Linked DNA regions of Homo sapiens: regions 1 and 3 are each linked to region 2. Evidence: promoter capture Hi-C in 16 types of primary human blood cells and fetal thymus (Javierre and others, 2016). All regions are on one chromosome and are shown on one strand. Each heading gives the region's core, a stretch centred on a gene start or on the middle of the fragment in contact. The rest is flanking DNA. Distances are from core to core; before and after follow the strand shown.

What was found. The method cuts DNA at HindIII sites, captures the fragments that hold promoters and counts their contacts. A CHiCAGO score of 5 or more calls a contact.
Region 1: a contact is called between a fragment that was not itself captured here and the fragment with the promoter of MSI2 in region 2, in 3 of 17 cell types (total B cells, naive CD8 T cells and M0 macrophages). The highest score is 6.6, in total B cells.
Region 3: a fragment that was not itself captured here is called in contact with the fragment with the promoter of MSI2 in region 2 in 1 of 17 cell types (megakaryocytes); the score reaches 5.4 in megakaryocytes.

Annotation. Positions count from the first base shown.
Region 1 is chr17:57,715,548-57,718,247 of GRCh38, reverse strand. No RefSeq gene overlaps it. Among named protein-coding and RNA genes, the nearest start is that of CCDC182, 28 kb to the left of the region's middle. The HindIII fragment of the contact is 1,002 bases long and covers 781-1,782 here.
Region 2 is chr17:57,255,273-57,257,972 of GRCh38, reverse strand. It overlaps MSI2 (musashi RNA binding protein 2), which reads right to left and starts at 1,450. Exons shown (of 14, transcript NM_138962.4): 1 at 1,169-1,450; 2 at 835-875; 3 at 426-507. The coding sequence starts at 1,230. LOC101927510 (a long non-coding RNA gene) reads left to right here and starts at 977. Exons shown (of 3, transcript XR_007065860.1): 1 at 977-1,031. RefSeq lists a silencer at 1,266-1,895. The HindIII fragment of the contact is 32,545 bases long and covers 1-2,700 here.
Region 3 is chr17:57,576,467-57,579,166 of GRCh38, reverse strand. The region is part of intron 7 of MSI2 (musashi RNA binding protein 2); the gene reads right to left. Among named protein-coding and RNA genes, the nearest start is that of MSI2-AS1, 31 kb to the left of the region's middle. RefSeq lists an enhancer at 1-212. The HindIII fragment of the contact is 283 bases long and covers 1,218-1,500 here.

The sequences.
Region 1 (2,700 bases), core at 32-2,531, 460 kb before region 2:
GGCTAATTTTTTATTTTTTTTTTTAGTAGAGCTGGGGGTTTGCCATGTTGGCCAGGCTGGTCTCAAACTCCTGACCTCAGGTGATCCGCCTACCTCGGCCTCCCAAAGTTGCTGGGATTCCAGGCGTGAGCCATCGCGCCGGCCTGTTTATTTATTTTTTACTTAACATGTCAGCATGTAGTTTCCAGGCTCTTACAAAGTCTGGAGGCATTTTGATTGCTTTGTAAGAGTCCATAGACTGGACGCTCTGTAGATTGCTTAAATTGTCTCTTGTTTGGGGCCTTCCTTTTATTTGTTTCCAATTTTTCATTAAACAACACTGCAATAATTTGTGCATGCCTTTTTTCCTACTGAAGATTCCTTCCTTTAGACAGAATTCCAGGAATGGATCTATTCTCTCTTAACTGTGTTTGATTGACCCTTTTGTGTTTGAAGACCGTCCTCTGTGATACAGACATTTGGAACTCAGTGAAGAGGTGAGGTGTTTCTGCTTCCTCCTTACCACCCAGTCCCATGTCACCATCCGCTCCAGTTGGCAGATTCTTCTTGCTCCCACGACAGCTCAGAAGCCCTTCAGGTTGTGGACAACATGGTTTTTGTGTGTTTTTTCAAGCTCTCCTGACTTGAGTCTGGGTTCACCCTCCTCTGACGATTTTTCTCTTCCACAAAGACTTGTTTAACTAGTTCTTGTGAAGGCAGACTCTATTCTTTTCCACTTCATTCCCAAAACTCCTTTGTCGAAGAAAATAAGGATCTCACCAAGGGTTTCCACAGAAAGCTTGGGAGATGAAAAATAATTGAAGGCCTCTCTAGCTCCTGCCTCCTTTCTTAATGACTTTATCACCATAGGGTAAGTTTAGGCCATTCTGCCATTCCTTTGACACTGACACCTCTGATACCTTAGCTAGGATCCAGCCGTTGCCATCTCCACCAAGAAAGGGCTAAAATTATTTGCTCCTTAGCTTCCGGGTAGAATCAGAGGACTGTGAAGGGTGGTGGGGAGAACCCTCCTGGCTGAGCTGACCTAGACCACCTTGATGATGGTGAAGATGTGAACTTAGCTCGTCTGTGTGGGCAGTTATGGAGCAAGAGTTTTGTCCATGGGCTGGGGCAACCTGTCCCCAATGAATGGGGCTCCCCGATGCTAAGCACCACCAGGATGATATCTGTGCTATCCACCAGGTTTTATGTTCTTCCTGCCAGACTCTTCTTCCTCCAACAGCACCTACCATTGGGTTTGTCCTAAATTTTAGCACCAGGCACCTCACAGGCCAGGTCTAGTTCTACCATACCACATAGTCTATGTTGTGCTTCTATGAGCTGTGCCAGGCATAAAGACTCCAAGATAAGGCACCTCTTAGACTATCACTTTTAAGGAGTAATGAGGAAATTGAATGGGAAGAAGGGGTTTGAGGGCCCTTGAGTAAATGATTTGGAAAACTAGGGAGCCATCCAGGTCCTGGAATATAGGTCAACATGTTGGTTGGCAAGGAGGGGACTCTCATCATGTGCCCCTGTCTAAGGCTGCTTGGCATGGTGGGAGGAGACTCCCAAGAGGGGGTTAGAACGCCTGGTTCCACTGTTGGCCCTGAGCTTAGTAGCTGTGTAATTTTAGGCAAGTCACTTATTCTCTCTGACCTTCAAAAAAAGAGAGAACTTGACCCGGATAGGTGGTTCTCAGTGTTTAGAGTTTCAAGACTCCGGTGATGAGTTACTCTATTTTTATTATCCATTGCTTGAGAAGAAATGTCTGTGACTTTGGGAATGCTGCAGGTGTAAGCTTTGCTGGAAGGCATCCCTCATGCTGGTGTCCTAGAGGTGTCTGAAGCAAGGTTCAGGGTCTGCAAGAACTCCAGGAAGCCGCTCTTCTCCTGCTTCCCCTTCTATTCTCCTCCAAAGACTATAAGTAAAAGGGGACAAGGGGCTGGGGGGATGGGAGATGGGGGATGAAGGGATAGGGGAGGATGGGGTAGGGAGATGAGAGGATAAAAGAATGGGGGATGAGGGGAAGGGGATAAGGAGCTGGAGGATGGGATTGGGGGATGAGGAGCATGGCTATGTAAGAGGTAGGATGGTGTTGCCTGTCCTCTTTATCTTCTTCTTTTTCTCCTGTCCTCACTTCATGGAATAGGCTATTTTTGGTATAATCCTTCAAAGCAATGCTATGCAAGGTGGCGAGAATGGTTGTTGTCTTGTAGCTGCTCCCCTTTAAGAAGAGAGGGTCTACCAGCACCCATACCTACCACTCCCACCCCAGATGGGAATCAGGACAATATCTCCCCAGCCTCAAACTCCAGAAGCAAATCTCAAAGACCAGATGGAGCTGGTTTCCTAGGGGCAGGAAGAAAGGAGAAAGGAAAAGGAGAAGTAGAAGAAACTCTCAGGCCCCCACCCGAGGCTGCCCATCACCCAGCCTGATGGCTCCTCTGTATGCCAAGGCTCAGAAGACACTGCAGAGTCCCTCCTGCAGACTCTCCGCATGCCGACAGATCAGGGACCAACAAGGCTGCTGCAGCCAGGAAGCACACAGACAGCCCAGACAGGCCTCCAGACAGGGCAGAGGGGCAGCAATTCCTTGGAAAATGGAGAAGCAGGGAAGGCAAACAAGTCTTGGTGGAGTTGTAGTGTAAGGAAAAGACAGGTAGAGGGGCAGATAAAAGGGAAGTAAGGGACACAGACAGGGGTCCTTAGTAGAACCTG
Region 2 (2,700 bases), core at 201-2,700:
ACGCTTTGTTTTATTCCGAAGAAAGCCCGGCACTTAGAAGAGATTTACCACCATCTTTCTAAGAGGGATCTTAAGAGTTTGGGGAGCTGGGAGTGTGGGGGAAACACACATTAAGATCAAAAGAAAAAAAAAAACTATGCGAAAGTAAATGAAGCTGAATGTCATTTTAAACAGAGAAAAAGAAGCGACGGGAAAATGACTTAAAAGCAGAGAGATGGGTATCTCTGTATCCAGAGTTCAGCTCCAATTAACAATAACCTCTGGGGTTACTAGGGGGCGGTGGGGGTGGTATAGAGCGCCGTTCGAGATCAGCCACGCGCCTGAGCCCCATTCTAATCCGCTTAGCTACTTCCGAAGACACCTCCAAAAATAAAACTTAAACTTTGTTCTAAAATAAAGACAAAATCCAGAAGGGAATGGTTTACCTGGAGCGTTTCGTAGTGGGATCTCTCATGACCATACATTCTCTAATTTCTCCAAATTTGCTAAAATAGTCTCTAAGGCTATCTGTAGAGAGAGAAAGAGAGAGATGGGGGGGGGAGAGAAGGTGTGGAAAAAAAAAGCAATGCAAATTTTGATCAAGGACAAAATCCAAAAGTAGTTTTCTGTTGTTATTCTGTTTTGTTTTTGCATTTTTTGCACACGCGGGGGAAATTCGGCAACAGAGGTCGCATAGAGGGCTCAGAAAGGATTTGCTATTTAAAAAAAATAACCTTGCACAGGAGAAGTGGGGAGCCAATGGCGGGGGGGGGGGGGCTCCTACACCGGGATAACAAAGAGCAATAAAGAAGCCAAGAAGGGGGGGACCCAGGCGTCCCCCCCTCCCTCCCTTACCTGGTGAGGTCTGCCAGCTCAGTCCACCGATAAACATTTTACTAGAGGGAGAAAACATAACAGAAGTGAGCACCGATGTCAGATCGGCCATTTTGACGTGTAACTTACAAAAGCTAAAAGGAAAGCGGGGGGGAGCGAGCGAGCGAGAGCCGGGAGGTGGGGTGGGGGAGAAGGTGACGGCGAAATGCAATCCAAAGGTGTGTAACTTCCACGGGGGGGGCGCGCGGGAGAGGCGGGGGGGCGCGGGAGATGCCCGGCTCCGCGCACCGCCGTCCCCGCCGCTGCAAGGAGAGCGAGCCCAAGGCGGCGCGGTGGGCAGCGGCTGGAAACTTACCCGGGGTCGTGCTGGGAGTCGTTGGCGCTGCCCGAGGTGCCTTGGCTCCCATTTGCCTCCATATCTGAGCCCCCCCGCCCCCCCACCCCCAAAAAACCAAGCCCCACAGCGATCGGAGCGGAGCGGCGGCCGGCTCCGAGCCCCGAGATCTCCGCTCCCTCCTCCCCCTCCTCCTCCCCCCCGCCCGGGCTCCTCCGAATCTCTCTGCGAGCGGCGGAGCCGGGGCAGCGGCGAGAGCCGTCACACGTGGGCTCGGCTTAGCTCAGCCCCGCTGCCTCGCACACCCCCCCGTCCCCGCCCCCCCGGCCCATCCCCACCTCTCCCCCTCCTCCTCCCCACCCCCATCTCCTCCTCCTCCTCCCCCTCCTCCCCGGCGCACGTGGGGCGGAGTTCTAGAACGTCGTGTAACCAATGCCGGTGACGTCACGCACCCCCGTGCGGCCCCCGCCTGCCCGCGCGCGCACACTCGGCCCCCCACGGCCGGACCCACAAGGGTGGCGCGCGAACCCCGCGGGCGGAGGGGACCCCGCCTCCGGGCCGGCAGGGCGCAGGGCGAGGGGGAGCGCACCCCGACTTCCCTGGATCACATGGGCTGCGGGGGGCGGGTGGATCGGGGGAGGGGAGGCGCGGGGAGCTTGCTGCGGCTCCTCACCCGGACCTGGGAGAAGACGCCCCCCACCCTCTCTAGTTCGCCCTCTCCATTCAAGTTTGCCGGCCCCTGCCGCCGAGATCCGGGAATGGCACCAGCCGCCCGCCCTCCGCTGTGCCCTGTTTCCAGCCACCGCTCAGAAATTTAGGTCAAGGACGTCGGGAGCAAACCCACACCCTGGCGCTCCTTTGGCGGCCCCCGAGACGCCCCAGGATCGGGGGGCTTCAGGATGGCGGAGACCCTCCTGCACAAACACCAGCCACAAGTTTTATTTTCCTTTTGCGCTGGAAGTTCTCTCTGGCTCTGGCTCCACACCGGCACGTCTTGCGCGGTTCCCCGCCCTTCCCCAGTAGAGGTACCAATCCGTGCCCGGGAAAGGTTATTTTGGAACTTTGAGAAACTGACGCGATTCCAGTGGCGAGAAAGTGCCGAAGAAAGGGTTTCCGCGTTAATCATACAGTGTTTTAAAAATGTAATAAGATAGGTTATAGGAGTCAAGGTCACATGATTGAGGTTCAAAGCAAATGTTTGTATATAACGAGAAGTACTTTTGGGGTGTCTCTGGGATGGATGGGAAGGGTGGTTATTTCAGGAAACCCCTGTGTAATCCGTTCGTTATATATTTTATTTCTCACCCAGCCTTTGTATGCCAGGATAGTAAAGTGCATGATACTGAAATAGCCCAAGACCCCTCACGACCTGCAGAGGTAGCTAGGGTGGCAGAAGGCTTCAGAATCACTCCCACCTTAGCAGCAGTAGTATTGTGCAGCACGGGTTCTGGCATACAGTAGGTGCTTAATAAATGCGGTTTCATACCTTCATGCACTGAAAACTCCAAAAAGACAATGTCTGTAGCCTTCCAAAGGCATCGCATGAAAGTTTC
Region 3 (2,700 bases), core at 110-2,609, 320 kb before region 2:
AAAATATTACATCCTTTATTATATCCAAATTCACTTTATTGCACTTGACAATACAGATAATCACATACCATATGCTCTAATGTTTTGAAACCAATGCATGTTGACAGCGGTTTTTATTCATGATGCATAATTCCATCCCCAGCTCACAATGAGGCATCTGAGCACCCAGCCTGGTGTTAAGACTTTTGCCTAATAACAGATTAACAATACAGCAAGTTTCCGAGACACACTCCCTCCCATGCCATTTTCTGTTTACAATGGGAAAAATGTACCTGGGCTGAAAAGATGGGCTTATCAAAGAGGAGGGGGAAAAAGAAAAACAACCCCGCATCATCACACACCCACCAGTCCCAGAGGGTTTATAATGATTTGTTACTGTTCCACGCTTATGAAACTTGATATTGAAAAGAGGAATTGGTTTTGCGCCAAGTAGCAAGGCAACTAATCACACCAACCCACACTGCTGGCCCCTGAGAATGGAAAGCACAAACTGCCCCAAAGCTCTCATTAGGAGTCTCTCTTGTTTTTACTCCTGTTTTGCTAGAAGCAAGTATTTGTCACTCCTCTACCTTGGTGAGACCATCCTTCTCCCGTCCCCTTCCCCTCATCCCCTGGGCATTCTTCTGTTCCCAATTAGCCCCAAGCTTCCTGGCGAAATGAATACAGCTGGGGATGCATCCTACCCCCCCAGTCCTGGCACCTCTCAAGCAGAAAGGCAAGGCCAGTAGGAACTGTCTTTGCAGCTCCTTCAGCGGCAGAGCCCCTTGTTCTGCGGGGTGGCTGAAGAGAAAGGGTGGATAATTTAAAGATGATCCCCTAGCTTTGCTGTAGTGCCCAGAACAAACAATGCCATTTCATACGTCCCCTAACTAAGCACTTTCATTTGCTTCAGAGAAGCACTCAAACAACTGTAAACCCATTAGATCATGTCAAACGTGGTGGGAAAGAGCTTGGGCTGTCACCAGCAGAGAATCAACTCAGATTTATAGATTCTTAAAGCTTTAATATATAGATATTTGTCTTCCCCCTGCAGATAGACAAGGGGACCAGGGCAGGGGCGGAGGAGGCAAGAAGAACGGCCCACAGCTCAGCGGCAGACAGATTGGAGTTTCACAATCATTCTCCCGGATAATGGGATTTCTCAACAAGGGGAGGAGCGGGGAGGAAGAAAAGCGAAGCCTTCACTTTGCTGAACACTTGGCTGTTTTTCCAAAGCTTTGCTTGCGGGTGGTGTGGGGGAGGAAAGAGATGTTATTATCAACAATGCCTCTGGAGTACCCAGTGACCTGCCGTGAACAAAAGCAAGTGGCGACCAAAGAAGGGCTGGAGTCCGAGGACGCAGAAACACTTACTCAGCCACCTACAAAGGAGGCCAAATGAATTAAGAGGCATCTTACTCCAAGTAATTGCTGTGCTTCTGAACAGCTTAAGTTATAACCTTTTTTCATAAATAAGAACCTACTTTCCCTTTGGGCTTACATCATGACTCCAAGAAAAGCTTTCTCTTTATTTCTTAATCATCTTCAGCAAGTAGGGGGCTCTTCCTACTACCTCAAAGGGTTTGGAATTTTCTTTTTAATTTTTTTCATTTTATCCTTTTCTCTTGCTTGTCTATCATCTACTGAGCATGGCAGTAAATAACTGGTAATTAAACCAATATCTACTGGAGACCAGGGCTTAAAGATATAATTTTATACAGAATCCTCCTGAAATATTACCAGTTGGGCTCTATGGGTCTGGAAATGGGACGGTTTGGACCAGGCTGGACTTTCATAATGCAGGACCCACCAGTGGTTTGCAAAGTGGTCCCTGGCCCCATCTTGCTGCCTCATCAATTCTAGTCTCTGAATATTTCTGGGGAAAGGGGCATCACCCCTCGGTACTTCATAAACACAGCTTGTTTGAGTTGGGCATCTTGAGGTGTTGCTAAATTCTTCAGCCCAAGGATCAGCCTTTCTCTTGGTAACTTCACAAACGGCCACTCATGGTTGGGGAAGCAGCCTGGCCCCCCTCCCAGGGGTAGTCCTTCAAGATCTAACGTAGCCACCTCATTTCTCCTTATTCGAGTCTCCTTGGTTCCTCTGGAATTTTTCCCGTAATACTGTCCTGGTCCCCATCAGACGACCTCCTCTGATGTGGTCTATCTTGTCAATGCCCCTCTTAAAATAAATGCCTGGAATGGAATATTCCACATGGGGTCTGAGCAGTGCAACCAAATACCGGACTGGACTTCCCTTTGTGGTGGCGTCCTTAGCAGCTCCATCACCTGTTGCCTCAAAGAAAACTTAACAGTCAACTAAAAAAACCCCAGGCTTCCTATAAACCATGTCAAAATCTCGCCCTGCCCAACCTTCCTTTTTTTTTTTCTTTAAAATTAGACATCGATTATAGTCATTTTTTTTTTTTTTTTTTTAAAGACAGATTCTCGCTCTGTCACCCAGGCTGGAGGGCAGTGGCGCATCTCAGCTCACTGTAACCTCCACCTCCAAGTTTCAAGCGATTCTTGTGCCTCAGACTCCCAAGTAGCTGGGATTACAGGCATGCACCACCGTGCCACTAATGTTTGTATTTTTAGTAGAGACAGGGTTTTACCATATTGGCCAGGGTGGTCTCAAACGCCTGACCTCAGGTGATCCACCTGCCTCGGCCTCCCAAAGTGCTGGGATTACAAGTGTGGGCCACTGCACCCAGCCAACATGG